Regions from separate parts of the Homo sapiens genome. Here region 1 is linked to region 2. Evidence: promoter capture Hi-C in 16 types of primary human blood cells and fetal thymus (Javierre and others, 2016). All regions are on one chromosome and are shown on one strand. The core of a region is centred on a gene start or on the middle of the fragment in contact, and the rest is flanking DNA. Distances in the headings are between cores, read along the strand shown. Region 1 overlaps KAT6A (lysine acetyltransferase 6A). Region 2 holds the start of RNF170 (ring finger protein 170).

What was found. The method cuts DNA at HindIII sites, captures the fragments that hold promoters and counts their contacts. A CHiCAGO score of 5 or more calls a contact.
Region 1: a fragment that was not itself captured here is called in contact with the fragment with the promoter of RNF170 in region 2 in 1 of 17 cell types (total CD8 T cells); the score reaches 5.5 in total CD8 T cells.

Annotation. Positions count from the first base shown.
Region 1 is chr8:41,951,031-41,958,602 of GRCh38, forward strand. KAT6A (lysine acetyltransferase 6A) reads right to left here. Exons shown (of 17, transcript NM_006766.5): 9 at 4,266-4,381. Among named protein-coding and RNA genes, the nearest start is that of KAT6A-AS1, 97 kb to the right of the region's middle. RefSeq lists an enhancer at 5,958-6,007. The HindIII fragment of the contact is 4,405 bases long and covers 2,326-6,730 here.
Region 2 is chr8:42,893,930-42,901,623 of GRCh38, forward strand. RNF170 (ring finger protein 170) reads right to left here and starts at 2,676. Exons shown (of 7, transcript NM_030954.4): 1 at 2,555-2,676. It overlaps HOOK3 (hook microtubule tethering protein 3), which reads left to right and starts at 3,049. Exons shown (of 22, transcript NM_032410.4): 1 at 3,049-3,259. The coding sequence starts at 3,203. MIR4469 (microRNA 4469) reads right to left here and starts at 2,346; the gene lies at 2,268-2,346. RefSeq lists an enhancer at 1,793-2,354 and silencers at 2,261-2,472, 2,268-2,627, 2,808-3,597, 3,608-3,667. The HindIII fragment of the contact is 5,948 bases long and covers 308-6,255 here.

The DNA.
Region 1 (7,572 bases), core at 3,278-5,777, 940 kb before region 2:
CTTACAGTAACCAAATTGCTCAAGAAAACATCAGGAGAAATAAAATCTCTGAGAAAATTACTATCAAGTCTTCTCCAGTAAATGAAGAGTTCATGCCACTTCCTTAGAATGGCAAGATGTATGGCATTTTATTGATGATTAAAAAAAAAAAAACAAAACTTTAGTGAACCTTATTATGTGAAAAATAGTAAACTGAAAACAAGCATTATGATCTACTTTATTCCAATCTAGTTCTCACTGAAAACATTTTAAAAGCTCCTTACTTTATTAGAACCAAGCCCACTGGGATGATACTGCTAATCTAAAGGGAATCATCTAGAAAAAAAACTACTGGAAAACCAAAATATTTCTAGAAATATTATAAACAACTGCTGTTCTCTCACAGAAAAAAAAGATCTATCATATAGAAAGAACATGAGACTACAGGAAATGAAATGTAGTTATAAAGATTATGAATACTCCTAGCCCTAGAGAATCTTGTTGGGGGCTGCTTTTAGTGATCTTCCTGGCAGGACCTAGGTCTCAGCTATCAAACAGGTAGCTGTACGGTGGCTTTGATCAACTGCACATGAAGTGTCACCTCCACACTGGAAGTTGATTCTAAAGTCTGCCACAATGCTGATAACCCAGCCCATGGAATCAGGGCTGTGCTGCAGCTGGGCATGCTTCTCTAACTTCTAGAATGATGCAATTATTATTCTCAGGAATTTCTACAGTACCTTCTGGCTTCTGAACATGGCCCAACATAGTAGCAGTTTGTGCAGTCAACTTGTAGCAAATTTTTAATGTAACAATAAAAATTATACCAAATATTACTTAAATCTAAGATTATGGTACAAGTCAAGTGAGATCAACCTAGATACACATGCTACATGGAGCAGCGTAGGCCCAGTGATTAATGGTTATGGCTATGCAGTAAGAGAGAAGTGAGCTTCAAGTTCTGCCACTTATACACTGTACTGTCTGGGACCAGGTCTGCAAAATGAATACAGTAATATTCATCTCACAGAATTACACCAGAGATGCTTAGTCCAGTACCAAGCTCAATGGATGGTAATTACAGCTGCTATTACTTAACGATTATTATTTGTATTCTTCTTCCATCAATTTTACTCAATAATTTAATAGCCAAAGGCATTAGGGATTCTATTTGGTTTCTTCTTCAGTAACTGGGATGACGAGAATAATCAAACTGGTTCTAGTGACAATCTCATAATCTAAGCATCAAATAAAGTCCAGAGGAGAATCAAAAGGCAGAGGAATCTTCCTAGGCTACTCTATCACCTAGGAATCTACCTCTTTAGGATCTCAAAGCTAAGCTCAAAGCAGCACAGGAGCAGAGGGCATCCAATGATCATAATTTCTTTTGCCTTAAGCCCATCTATGTCATGCTCTTAATGGCAGAGTAGGTTTCGCAATGAACCTACTGATAAACCAAATGAAACAGTATTATTGCTTCATTGTTTTTGATTTTTAAAGACAGGGATACAAGATTACTTAATAGGCAATGCATACACAAATATCTGGATATGAAAGAACATTCCGTAAAGTATAATCCCACTTCCCAAAAGACGTTTTTCTTGTGATCTTTGCATTTTTGTTTGCTCCTATTGCCCTGTTTTTGTACGTTACAGTGTTTGAAACCTTTAATAAGAAAATAATTTATAAGCAGTTTAGCACGAAATAATAAATAGGCATTAACAAAATTAAGAATAGAGGTTTATTATTTGGAAAATGTAAGATCTCCAAACATTTTAGTCACCTCAAGTTTCAAGCTCATTTAAGTAAATATAATTTTTTTAAAAAATGTAACCAAGAGAACTACGAATATAAAGATAGAAAAAAAGTCATAATTACTCAAGAACCTATTAAAAATTACAGGATATTTTCTAATTGAAAACTCAAAGAACCCTATCCAATGGATGAAAAAATATACAGAAAATGTCTAAAACTGCTTAAGGAAGTTGATGAATTTTACAAGTTCCTATCCTGTTTCTGCTTTCTACTGGTTCCTATTATACTTTTTTTGGTTATTTTTTGATGGCATTATTTATTCTTTCACTGATAACTAGTCTCCTCACACCTGTTTCTAATGAAAATCTCATCAGAACAAAAGCTACATTTTCAATAAATCCTTTAAATATCTATCTTAAAAGAAAACAGTTTATGATTCCATTCTCATCATTCTCTTGAACAAAAGTAAATGCTAGCCCTCTATTTCCATTCCTGAATCTATTTCCTCTCCCCACCTTGAGTAGACAAGGGGCCTGTGGTTTCCATCTATCTGTACTATAGTCTCCGGAACAGTTGACAGACATGTGGAAAAGCTTTCTTTTCTAAGTTGAGTGCTCTTGTGATTTGGGCAGCTTGCAAAGAGCTCACTTAAAAAATGATCATAACAACTTATTTTAAACCTGATGAAAAAATTAATTCCTTGGCATATTTATTTTCTTTTCTTTTGAGATGGAGTTTCGCTCCTGTTGCCCAGGCGAGAGTGCAATGGCGCGATCTCAGTTCACTGCAACCTCCGCCTCCCAGGTTCAAGCGATTCTCCTACCTCAGCCTCCTGAGTAGCTGGGATTACAGGCACCCACCACCACGCCTGGCTAATTTTTATATTTTTAGTAGAGACAGGGTTTCGCCATGTTGGCCAGGCTGGTCTTGAACTCCTGACCTCAGGCGATCTGCCTATCTCGGCCTCCCAAAGTGCTGGGATTACAGGCGTGTCCTTGGCGTATTTCTTCTCGGTCATAAAAGATCTTGGCTATTCAGAATTCCTGAGGAATGAGTTAACTTGAACGCTGAGTTCTGTAGGTAGTTGAGGAAGTTCCTGCCTTCCTTTAACATATATACATATACAATACATACATGTATAATATATATGTATAATATGGAAATGCAAATACAATGTAACCTTATCTTAAAGTCACATTAATTGTTGTCAGCTCATGAAACAGTGTGCTTCCTTAAAGATACACCACAGTGTTTGGGGCTAACTGATCCCACAGTAAATGGCCCTCAATTGCTGTGTTTCATGAGCTTGTGTGTTAGTTTCCTGGGGTTTTGCTTTTTCTTCTGTTTTTGTTAGCTGTCACTTTGAGGTCAGTGTCTGAAATGGCATTCTTACCCCTATTTTTCTACTTCGACTGTAGACTAGAGAAGCAAGTTATTATATGGAAAGAAAAAGTAAAAAGATAAATAAGTTTTACTGGATGGCCCTTTTAACAACTATACTGGCCTATTCCTAGTTTCTTGGCAACAACCCATGTTAAGGCACTCAACATATTGTAAGGTACTAAATAAATTTTGCTAATATTTTGGCCAGGCAATGTTACTACATGGGTGAAAACTTACATGATGAGAATATTCTGAACATGTATTTAACCCACAAAGCACCATGATGTATTATTTCTTGTAACACCCTACTAAATGGGAAACTGAGGCATAAGTAGTTTATAGATTAGAGAGCATTAATGTCACTACAATTAACTAGTATTTAATTTTTTGATCTCATTTCATCTTTTAATTTTAACCATAAAGAAAAAATATAATAACTGACATTATTGAGCACTTACCATTTTCTAAGTGATTTACATGTTGTAGCTCATTTAATGTCCTCAATATCCCCACGAAGTAAGTACTATTACTATCTCTGCTTTACAGATGAGGAAACTGAGGCACAGAGCAGTTGGGCAGCTTTTAAGGTTACACAACTTACCAATTTCAGAGCTGAGTCATGAAACCACTTTAGCTCCACCAAGCTGGTGAGTGATCAATGTTTATTAATATATCTGGAAGCCCAAACTATTTATATATAATTTTTACACCAATTGTCCAATTATTTCTGGGAAAACAAACCATTTATTAAGTTTGTCAAATTATAAATATTTATTTACATCAAAGACTAATCAACTGAAACTTTATATTAATTTATATATGAGTTCTTCTCTTTTTCAAAATTCTTAGTGATAGGAGTGAAGACAAATTTCTCTTAAAAAAAAAATAAAAAAGCATTCCCCTTTTATTGTGACCATGCATTCGGGTTTCTCATTTTAAACATCAGCGTCTGAGAGGTTACAGAAGAGAACATCTAAAGCAAACTGGGATGAAGTGGCTGCCAAAGCCGCTGCTATTATGGACATTTAAAAGCCCCCAGTTTCCTCAAATGTAAAGGATAAGGTGGACTCAAACATCTTCAAGATCCCTTCCAGTTCCAGACTTCTATGGATCTCAAAACAGAAGGTCAAGGGTCTCTCAAAACATACCTTGAGTATTCTTGAGGATATGGGGAGGAGTACCAGGTGTGAATTTCATACTTCCCAAACTCAATGACAGAGGGACAGCGGACTTGTGGATCAGGGGGACCAGTCACTCCAACTTTCTGTGCAGTCAAGAAATACATTCAAAAGTTAGCTAAATTAGACACACTGAGATAACAAAGAAAGTTCTGAATCTAAATGTTGTCTTCTCAGGACTCCAAAGGAGTAAAACAAAAACAAAAGCCAGAACAAGCTAACATATTTTGAAATAAGTTATATTATTCCTTAAACAGAGCACCCAGATGAAAAATAAAAATGCTAATAAATCTCTTAGAACCAAATGCATTGGGTGTTGCTGCATTTCTACATTTAATAACAGTAAAAATATTTTCCTCAATTAAACTCACTCTTAATGACTTAATATTAAAGAGAAACTGCTGATACTTGGTGATATAAGATAAAGAATAATTTACAAGTGAGGGAGGGGGACACTGCATATTTGCTGAAGTCCTACCACACTGCCTCCGCTGACAACAATGGAGATGCCCTACTGAATATGTAAGCACACAAAGGATGATTTTTTAGTTTGGGAAAGTAGATATTTAAGAGAAATACAAAAAGAATCTGACAAAACAAGTATCAAGAGAGTCTTCATTTCATACTATGCCTAAAATTCCCTTCATTAGTAGCTCTGCATAGATTTAACCAAAGAAAGACACTCTGTTATATACAGACCTTCTCTTTTTTCTGCCTTCTCTTTACAATGAAAACAATCTCTATACCCCTCATCCCTGCAATAGTCTGAACTACATTATCTAAACAGAGAATAATTTTTAAAGCCTTTATGACTTCCCTGACTTTCCAGATCAGAAATTCAAACATAAGTACGTAGCTCAAGAAAATAAAGGCTGTTAAGGGTCTTAACATGTTAACTCAAGGGCAACATGACTTGCTCTGCACCCAGTCTAGCAACAGATGCATATACACACTCATGTCCATGTGTGTGAGTGCAGATATATCATGGATGCTCTACAAATACTAACTGACAAGAAAAAGACAAAAGAGTTTAGCCTAACCAAAAACAAGCATTAATAACTCTTCCCCAAAAGGATAACTGAAATTATCCTTCAATTTTATGCTTTAAAGACCACTAAGAGACTAGTAAAAATCCCTTGTTGGAGCATGCAGACACACATACATATTTTATAACAAAACTAAAAGAAATTTTTATTCATTGGTTTTATATAAATCCGTTTAAAGAAGCCTCTTCACCATAACTCATTAGAGACCTTCTGGTCTTTCTAACCATTCTCTTTTATAAAAGGCCAAGGGACTTATCTCAGGTTTCATACTGGAATGTAGCCAAATGAAACCTCAAGCTCTTCCTTAGACACCTCAAAACAAAAGACAAAGATCTGTTTGTGGGATGAATTGTGTTATAACACCACCAAGTACTGGGGCTCCTCCAAATACAAAACCAAAAACAATGAAGAATACATAATACAGGGTTAAAATAAGATTTCTTTCATTTCTCAAAACCCAAACAGAACTTTGTAAAAAGATTTTTTAAAGGCTGTTTTTAAACTACATTCTAGAATCAACTACTCTAACTCATAAAGTACTATCTTTTCATCTATCTTCACAACTCAAAGTAATAACAACAGTATAGGAAACTTTCAAAATAACTAAATACCAGAAACCAGATCTAACTTCCTGAGGCAAGGATCAGATAGAAAGCCCAAAAGCTGAAGTCATGCACCTGCTGCGGCACTGTCTGTTGTTTGAGGGTCTTCCCATCAGCTGCCCGCTGCTCTTCTAGGCGGATGCCCGATGTGAAAGTGGATATCCAGTTCCAGTACAGCTGTTTGCACATCACCACAACTGCGCACGTCTGTCCAGAATGGGACCTGTGGTAGGTTCCCCTCTGCCCACACCCGCCTTTAACCTTTGCACCGTGAAACGTTCCTGCACATGCGCTCATGTGTGAGCCCGCCTCCACTCCCAGCTCCCCTGAGCAAGCCTCCACAGCAAGGGTGTTTCCTTTTACGAAGATTTAGAAATCAGCAAGGCTCTCTACACAGGGAGGAAGAAATGGCTACACAGAAACCACTCATTCCAGTCCTAGCCAAAATCAAACTGTCATATCTGAACTACAAGGTTACCTTTGCTAGGTCTTTTTATTTTAACATTTCAACCAAAGTACGTTTTCGCTAAACATGTGACTTTCCAAAGCAGCAGGTGTCTAATATAATCAAGGGCACAAAATATATTTAAATGTTTAACTCAAATTCTGCCACTTCATGTCCTCCTAATTTAAATATGCCAAATTATTTAAAAGAAGACGTATGTTCCAGGCTAGAATTGACCTTTTAATCTAAGATAACTAACAGGGGGTAGCAAGGGGGTGGATTAAATACACTAATAATTGGGCTAAACCAAAAGAAAACTTTATGCCTACTGCTAGATAATAAAGCTTTTATTACCACCAGTTTATATGAAAAGAGTATTACTCTTCTACAAAAACTTAAGCTTCAATTAAATGACTCATCTAATTCCAGTTTGTAACATAAAAAAGGCCATTCTTGCAGTATCCCCAACTCTGGATCTGGTAGGGACACCAAAATTGTGTAAATAATTTAACAATTTCTGTAAACACAGAGCTGCTGCCTTCCCCCATCTGTCCACTGGAGCGCTCTCACTTGCCCTTCCCTCTCCATTCCCCAAGGGGGTGCAATGTTTTGAGGAGAGAGGGAGGTACCCCTTTATTATCAGTGTGAGGCTGGGAATGTGGGGAGAAGAGATGGCTTTCTGGCATTTGAACATTTTCCCACAGAAACACTACAGTAAGTAATTCCATTCATTAGGGATTAAAAGTTACATGATGAAAGAGGTATGAAAGAATGAATTCACATGCTCCACAACAGAGAGAGCATGAATTTAAGGACTAGAGAAAATCATGTTCGTGGAGCACCTATTGTGCTAGACTCTGACCTGAGCCTTATGTCGTTACCTCCTTTGGTCCCCACAATCCATCCTTCAAAGTAGAAAACAATATACCCACTCTGCAGATGAAAAAATAAGCCTCAGATAAGCCTCAGGTTAAGAGGCAAAAGCACCGGGCAGGAACAGCGAGTGAAGCATAAAGACAGAAAAGAATGACATGGGTTGAGATGTGACGGAAGTAACGACAGCCCTCAACTAATTCCTCCCTAAATTCCCAAAGTTTATGGGTAAGTTTTTAAAAACGGGAACTTGGTTTTCCAAAGAAATGAAGCTACAAGTCCACAAACTTTTAACCCAAAACCCTTGGACT
Region 2 (7,694 bases), core at 1,426-3,925:
CAGCTAAGACAAGTTCAACTCACCTCTCCTCAGGCATTTCCAAAGCTTTCAGGGAAGGAAAAAAAATAAAACACACAGAGAAAATAGAAAAATAGGAAATTCCGGGACTTCCTGGAACAAAGGAGAGAATCTCAGTGTCTTTTTACCCCAAGGCTTACGTAGAAACTCAGCAGCCACATGGCTTCTGCAATTACTCACATCCAAAAAGTTTTTACTAATTTCTTTCATCAAAGGTAACTGGAATTACAAAATGAAACCTCCAGAACAACGTAACATCATGCACAAAAGCACTGTGGATATGCAGCCAAGCTTGAAAAAGGAGACTTTAGGTCCATTGTGTCAAAGCCTTGAAAACCGGGGCCACTGGAGGAAGGGTGCTCAGGACGGCACAACCACAGTCGCTCCAGTAGGGCCAGCATCTTATCTGCCCATCTAAAGACAAGCTGCATGTGAGTCAGGAGTAAGTCAATGTGACATATACTCACTGACTTCATTCACTTGCCTACAAGATTATACGTCACTTAAAAGTGCTAGAGATTCGACAGAAATAACCTGATAAGGAATGTAGGAACTCTAGTTTGACAAATATCCAGAGGCACCAACACAGGAACCAAACACAGGCGAGACACACATGTGTAATTTTTTTTTTCTTTTGAGACAGATTCTCGTTCTGTCGTCAGGATGGAGTGCAGTGGCGCGATCTCGGCTCACTGCAACCTCAGCCTCCCGCGTTCAAGCGATTCTCCTGCCTCAGCCTCCCGAGTAGCTGGGACTACAGGAGCCCGCCACCACGCCCGGCTAATTTTTGTATTTTTAGTAGAGACGGGGTTTCACCATGTTGGCCAGGATCTCTTGACATCGTGATCCGCTCGCCTCGGCCTCCCAAAGTGCTGGGATTACAGGCGCGAGACACCGCGCCTGGCCACGTATGTGTAATTTCTAAAGGTTTCTCTGCCCTTGGTGTAGGGAAGAATGTTTGAAAAAAAGACCATTGAGAATACTTCAGGTAAGTTTTTTTTTTTTTACACTTACAAAATGCTAAATGATCAGGGGTCAACTATCAAGTGGTACTCTGTAAGGCAACCTTAAAAACTCACTGCTGACCCAGGCTCGGTGGCTCACACTTTTGATCCCAGCACTTTTGGGAGGCTAAGGCGGGCGGATCACTTGAGCCCAGGAATTTGAGACCAGCCTGGGCAACATAGCGAGACCCCCTCTCTACAAAAAATAAGAAAATTAGCTGAGCATCGTGGCCTGCACCTGTGGTTCCAGCTACTTGGGAGGCTGAGGTAGGAGGATCACTTGAGCCCAGGAGGCAGAGGTTGCAGTGAACCAAGATTGCGCCACTGCACTCCAGAACGAGACCCTTTCTCAAAAACCACCATCAACAACAACAAAAAACCCCACTCAATGCTGTCTTGGCAGTTTTCAGTGCTCAATGAGAAAACCTACTCTTAATGGAAAAAAAGTGGGGGAAAGGGGTTCCAGGAACTACAAAGCAAAGTGTGTCTTGGGAAGTTAGCTTTGTTGCACTCCAAATAAAAATTTGGCATTGGGTGGTAGTTATGCATACTCTACGCATCGACAATTCTCTAAGGACTCCAAAGTGCATGTCCTGGAAATTCCAACATATTTGCACTACGTTCCAGGTACACTAGAATGTTTATAGCCATGTTCTGAGTGGCCTCAGTCTGAACAAAATGCCCAACCAGAGTAGAATGGATTCACTGTTCTATTCACACTGGAATACTAGGCAACAATTAAAATTACCTATACATACACAGTACACCAATTTAATACTGATTGAAAACCACAAAACAACACACTGTGATCCACCCGCAAAAGTTCAAAAACAGGCAAAGGAAAACGACATCGCATGCACACATAGATGGTAAAGCTGTAAGGAAATGATCACACTAGTCAGGCTAGGAGACAATCAGGCTCCGAAAGGAGCACAGGGCATGGGTGAGAAACTCCTGGGGTGCCGGTAATGCCCTTTTCGTTTTTATCTGGGTGTTTTATTAATTCTTCTTTAAACGTGTATGTCGTATGCACTTTTCTGCGTATGCTATATCTGTTAAAAATTTATCGGCAGCCCAGCAGACAGATTCGTGCCTCTAAAGAGGTGGAAGCTCCAGAACGATCCGCCTCGCCATTAAGCGAAGGCAACTCCGAACGCTGAGAAACGCAGGCCCGGGGTCGGCCGGTGTCCTTACGGATTGGCGAGCGGGCGCACACCCCTCCTGCATTAAGGAGAGTTCTCAGGGTCACGCTCCGAGCGACCCTAGAGGGAGCGGCGGTGTCCTCGCCGCCGCCAAACCCACCTAGAGCCGCTCTCCGCGTCGGCCCCTCCACCGTCGCCGGCGACTCCGGACAGCCGCGGGGCGATTCTGGGGCTTCCAGACGAGGGAGGGGCCCGGGGGGAAGGAGGCGGCGACTCCCGCCGCCCCGCAGAGCCTCGGCGGCCAGAGCTACCCCAAGAAGGCCAGACCCCGCCGTCCGCGGCTCCGCGGGCCCCGATAGGGTGGGCGTGGCCGCCGCGCGCCGGACGTACCTCTCCACCGCGAAGGAACTACCTCGCCAGTTCCCGGCGACAGAGGACAGATTATTTCCAGGACCGCTCCCGCCACCCCTCCCGGGCAACCCACTAGACGTCCCCTTTCTAATTTGGAGTGCGGGTGCGGGCGCACGCGCACTGCCGAGCTTCCGCGAGGGCGCGACCGGACGGCGGAGGAGGACCCGTCGCCGCAGCCTCCAGGGCGGAGCGCGTGCTCGCCTCGACACGCAGCGAACTGGTGGCGGGGGCGCGCCCGGCGGCAGCGGCGGCGGCGGCGGCGGCGGCGGCGGCGCGGCGGCGCGGGTCGGCCGGGGCGCGAGCGTGCGCAGTGGCTCCTCGGCCTCGGCTCCAGCCAGGGCGGCGGCGCTGGGGAGGAGCGGTGTGGGCGGCCGGGGGCGGGGACGCGGGGCGGCGGGCGTGTCCGAAGTCGCGCGCGGCTGGCGCGCGGTCCCGAGTGAAAGGAGAAGGAGGGGCGCTGGGGGTGACGGTGCGGAGCCGCTGCCAGCGCTGGGCGAGAGTCGGCGGCCGGATCCGAGGAGCAGGCGGGCCTGAGGCCGAGTCAGCTGCGCGGGCCCCCGGATCCCCCGACAGAGCGGCGGCGGTGTCTGGCCAGGCGGTAGGCGCTGCCTGGCCGCGGCGGGGAAGATGTTCAGCGTAGAGTCGCTGGAGCGGGCGGAGCTGTGCGAGAGCCTCCTCACTTGGGTACGTGGGGGCCGCGGGCCGGCGGGAAGACCCCCTCCCCCCGCCACCTACCGGGACCCTCCACGCGCGGCCCGTGGGGCGAGCGCTGCGGGCGACGGTGCCGTCACATCCGGGGCCTGGGGCGGGCGGGGCGAGGAGGCTCGGCCCAGGGTCCGAGAGAGACTTGCCGGGCCTGAGGCGTCGCTGTTCCGGGCGGACCCCGGCCGGGGCTGGGCTGGGAACGCGGCGGGCGACTCTGGGATCCGTGCGGCTGCTCGCAGCTGGGGCTGCGCTGCGCTCTGGGGGTGGCCGAGCCTGACTGCCCCGCGTCCAGGACCCGCCGCCGCTCCTCGCCTTTGTTGCCGCGTTCGCGGAGGACGGGCCCGGCTCCGGCCCGGGAACTGAAAGGACCTGTGAGGGAGCGTGGGGAGAATGCGGGAGGCGCCCGGGGACCCCGTTTCGGATGCAAGGCACCGCTGGCGGTGGGAGTGCGCGAGGGGCGGACGCCTGTCAGAGGCGTCGGGCAGACGTTTAAAGGAGTCTGGAGGTGTCTGGGCGTCAACAATGGAACTCGAAGGCCTTGGGGGACAGAGTCGTGGGATTCTGATTTTGAATTCTTAAACGGTTTTAGATTCCTCATACTTTGAAGTAAATACATGTTCACCTCTCACGTCAGCTGCCGCGCCTTCCTGAAGCCGGGTCTTCAGGACGCGGCAGGGGAACCGACGCCCGGGTTCCAGTCGTTCTCGCCGCGGCGCGGCCGGGGAGGGGGAGGGATGCGCAGAGCCCGGGCGGACCCCGCGCTGCCTTCGGGAGCCTCCGTTTCACTCATTGCTGAGAATGTTAATTAAATGTTTACGGATGTGTTTATGAAGGCTACTACAGCATTTGTATTACTTTTAAAGGTAAAACACGAATGTGAGAGAAATTCTCTTTAGCGGTGTCTTGGGTTACGAGTCAGGATCCCTGGAGTGTAGACGTCACGATCCTGTGCAAGGCACTTTGCTGGAAAGGCTGGAGAAGTATTGCCTTACGTTGGTTGTTAAAAAAATTAATAAAAATAGTCTGAGGTTTTTATAGTTTGGCTACGTCACGAATCAATTTCTGTCCTCTGAAACAGACTTGGTAGAGCTTGAGTAGCCAGTTGCATATCAGACCATTTAGGGGATTTCAGATCGTTAGCAGTAGTATGTAGTTAGCGTGCAGCTTACCCTTCTGATGAGTTCTCCCTCCAGGCAAGGAGATGGCTTTCACTGCTGTATTTCAGAAAAGAGGAAGACTGGTAAGTTGTATAATGTGGCTGAGGTTTCTGACTAGGCAGGGGAGAGAGAGAGAGGAAAGAATTACTAAATTCTTTGATGTTGTGGAAGGAATAGATTTGGCAGAATCTGTACATCTGTAAACAGAATGCTGAGGAACTTAAGATTTAAGTTTTTGAGACTGTGCAAGTAGTGCTTCCCTTTATGCTAGAAGAAGCAGCCAGAAGGCAAAGATGAAGCTAATTGAATCTAAGTAGGGCTACATTGTTTAAAATCTAGGGAGAAAGAAGACATGGAAATAAAGAGGTGTACAGAGGCTCCTTAACTTGCGATGGGGTTACATCCCGGTAAACCCATCATAAGTTGAAAATACCGTAAGTTGAAAATGCATTTCATACGCCTAACCGTCCAAACGGTAGCTTAGCTTGGTCTACCTTAAACGTGCTCAGAACACTTACCTTAGCCTACAATTGGGCAAAATCATCTACCACAAAACGTGTTTTATAATAAATTGTTGAATATCTAATGCAATTTATTGAACACTGTACTGAAAATGAAAAATATAATGGTTGTATGGGCACTCAGAGTATGGTTTCTACTGAATGTGTATCTTGCATCATTGTAAAGTTGAAAAGTCTTAAGTTAAACCATCCTAAGTTGGGGACCGTCTGTATTTGAAGGGTATCCACAAAATATGGTAGGTAGTAATTGCATTTATTTAAGTGAGAAATGCTGATAAAAATATACAGGAGAAATCTTAGAAGTTTGAAGGCCTGCTGACAGAACCTGACAACATGAGAGAATCTATTTAGAATCTCCTAAAATGTCAAGAAAACGAGTAATCCACATTATCAGCTGTAGAGAGGTCAGGGAGTATAGTATTGTAGAATAGGCTTTTTGAAATGTCACTGGAAACTCATCAATGAGAATTTCTGGATAAGATTAGAGATTATCAGTGACAAAATTGGAGGGCAGTGTTCATGAAGATGTACAGTTCTAAAATTTGGAAACACTTTAAAAGACATGTTTCAAAATAGAGTTTAAATGCTGGGTTTGTTCTCTTTTAGCTGTCATTATAAAAAGCAGAATAAATGTTTCAATGAGCAATGTTTGATGACATTTAAATGTATAATATCACCCCTCCTATCTGTAAGCCAGATTAATGCTAAGCACAATTCTAAAACCAAATGCAAGCAAAAATGTACACATACACTCCAAAGAAAAGACTCATTTAGATTAGTTTTCTTGATTTTATGTCAGCTTCTAGTCAGTTTGGTTGTGTGGGGGGTTTTGCTCTCACACAGTAAGCTAGAAGGTGACTGACACTCAGCAAAATGCAGACAACTGTCAGTGACAGACAAGATCTAAGAGCTGAATGATTCCGTCTTTGGGATGACAGCCTTATGTACTTCTAGAGCCTCCCTGTTCAAGTTTTGAAGATCATAATTATATTCCTGAGTATCAGATAAAAGTTTGTTTTCACTACATAGCATTTAGTTTGAGATTGGAGAGATGTATATAGTACATTTTAGAAATTATTCCACTAGAAATGGCTAAAGTAATAAAAGCTCAAGTACTTAAAGGGATGATTCTGTCACCTATACAGAACTCAATGGAACGTCTCATTGCCTCATATGCTAGATAAATTGCCCTTTTATCAGACAGCCTACTAGCCCAAGAACCATATGTTCCAAATTTTTTCGAAAGAGAGAGTTACAAAAAGAGTTAAGTATCATCTTACCAAGGGGAAACATCTTAAGCTTAAATTCCAAATCAAAGTTTATGCAAACAAGTTCAGCAGGACATGCTTGAAAATTTCCACTGTGCCTCCTCTCTCCACCCTCTGAGTCAAAATTTGCCCTGCCAATTACACCTGTGAAGCCTAATTTCTTGAACTGTATGTGAATCTCGATGAAAAGATAGCACTTTTCCAGGTTTTAGAGACTGAAAAACGAAGTCTACAATGCTACCAAGTTATGACAAAAAAAGTCATCACATAGGCTCGGTACACTTTGGGATAACCTAGCAACATTAATATGTCCTTATTGTTTTCATATTACTTATTTGGCAGCCTATAAAATGCATACTAGTATATAGAATTGGGGGTGGTATAATTATTATGGTGGTATCTCCCCCATTCCATTCTCCTCTGCCTAACTCGATTCTGCCAACAATTTTTGTCCTCTAATGGAAGAATAAGTCACTGATGTACAAAAGTTAAAGTACTTAAAAAGATAGTATAGCATAAGAGTACATACAGGTTCTGACATTAGGCAGCCTGGGTTCAAATCCTAGTTTTGTTCTATACTAACTGATGTGACTTTGTAACTTCACCTCTGTGTTTTGATTGCATTGATATTTAACTTTATGTTTGCTAACTTCACCAGAGATTCTCATGCTTTAGTGTTGATCTGCATCATCTGGAGAGCTTGCTAAAACACAGATGCCCAGAGTTGCTAGTTCTGTAGGTCTGGGCTGGGCCTGAGATTTTGTATTTCTAATAGGTTCCCAGGTGATGCCATTGTTGGTGACATAGGGACCACATTTTGAGGACCATGGCTCTAGAAAATTATTTGACATTTTGCGCTGGACAGTTCTTTGCTGTGTGGGCACTGCACTATGCGCTATGTTTAATAGTAGCATCCCATTGCCTCAACCAGCTAGATGACAATAGCACCCAACTCACAGCCAAAAATGTCTCCTCGGGAGCAAAATTATCCATTGCTCTAGAGATAGTAATTCCAGGTGATCTCATGCTTTACTCTTCTCATGCTTTTGTTGGGGAGGGGGAGGTAGAGGTTGGGTGGTGGTAATAGAGCTTCTTGGAATTAAAAGAAAGATTATAACCCTTCAGGTAGAGTTTCATGCCTTAATGCAGTTAAGTGCAATTGTCTTTCAGTTTTATTGTACTGCTATCCTGAAATAGATGTTAGCTCAGAGAACTGGTATGTGACAGATTTTTAAAAATTAAGGTACGGTTTACATACCCATAAAATTCATCCTTTTAAAGTGTATAATTTTTTTGGTTTTTAGTATGATCACAAGATTGTGCAGTCATCATGACTATCTAGTTCCAAGAACATTTTCATCACCCCAAAAATAAACTAGGGGATAAATTTTCTTTAGGATCTGTTTCACTTTGGTCTTGCAGCAGAGGTGGACATCTCTGACCCTTATGAGCAACTATGTACCTCAAG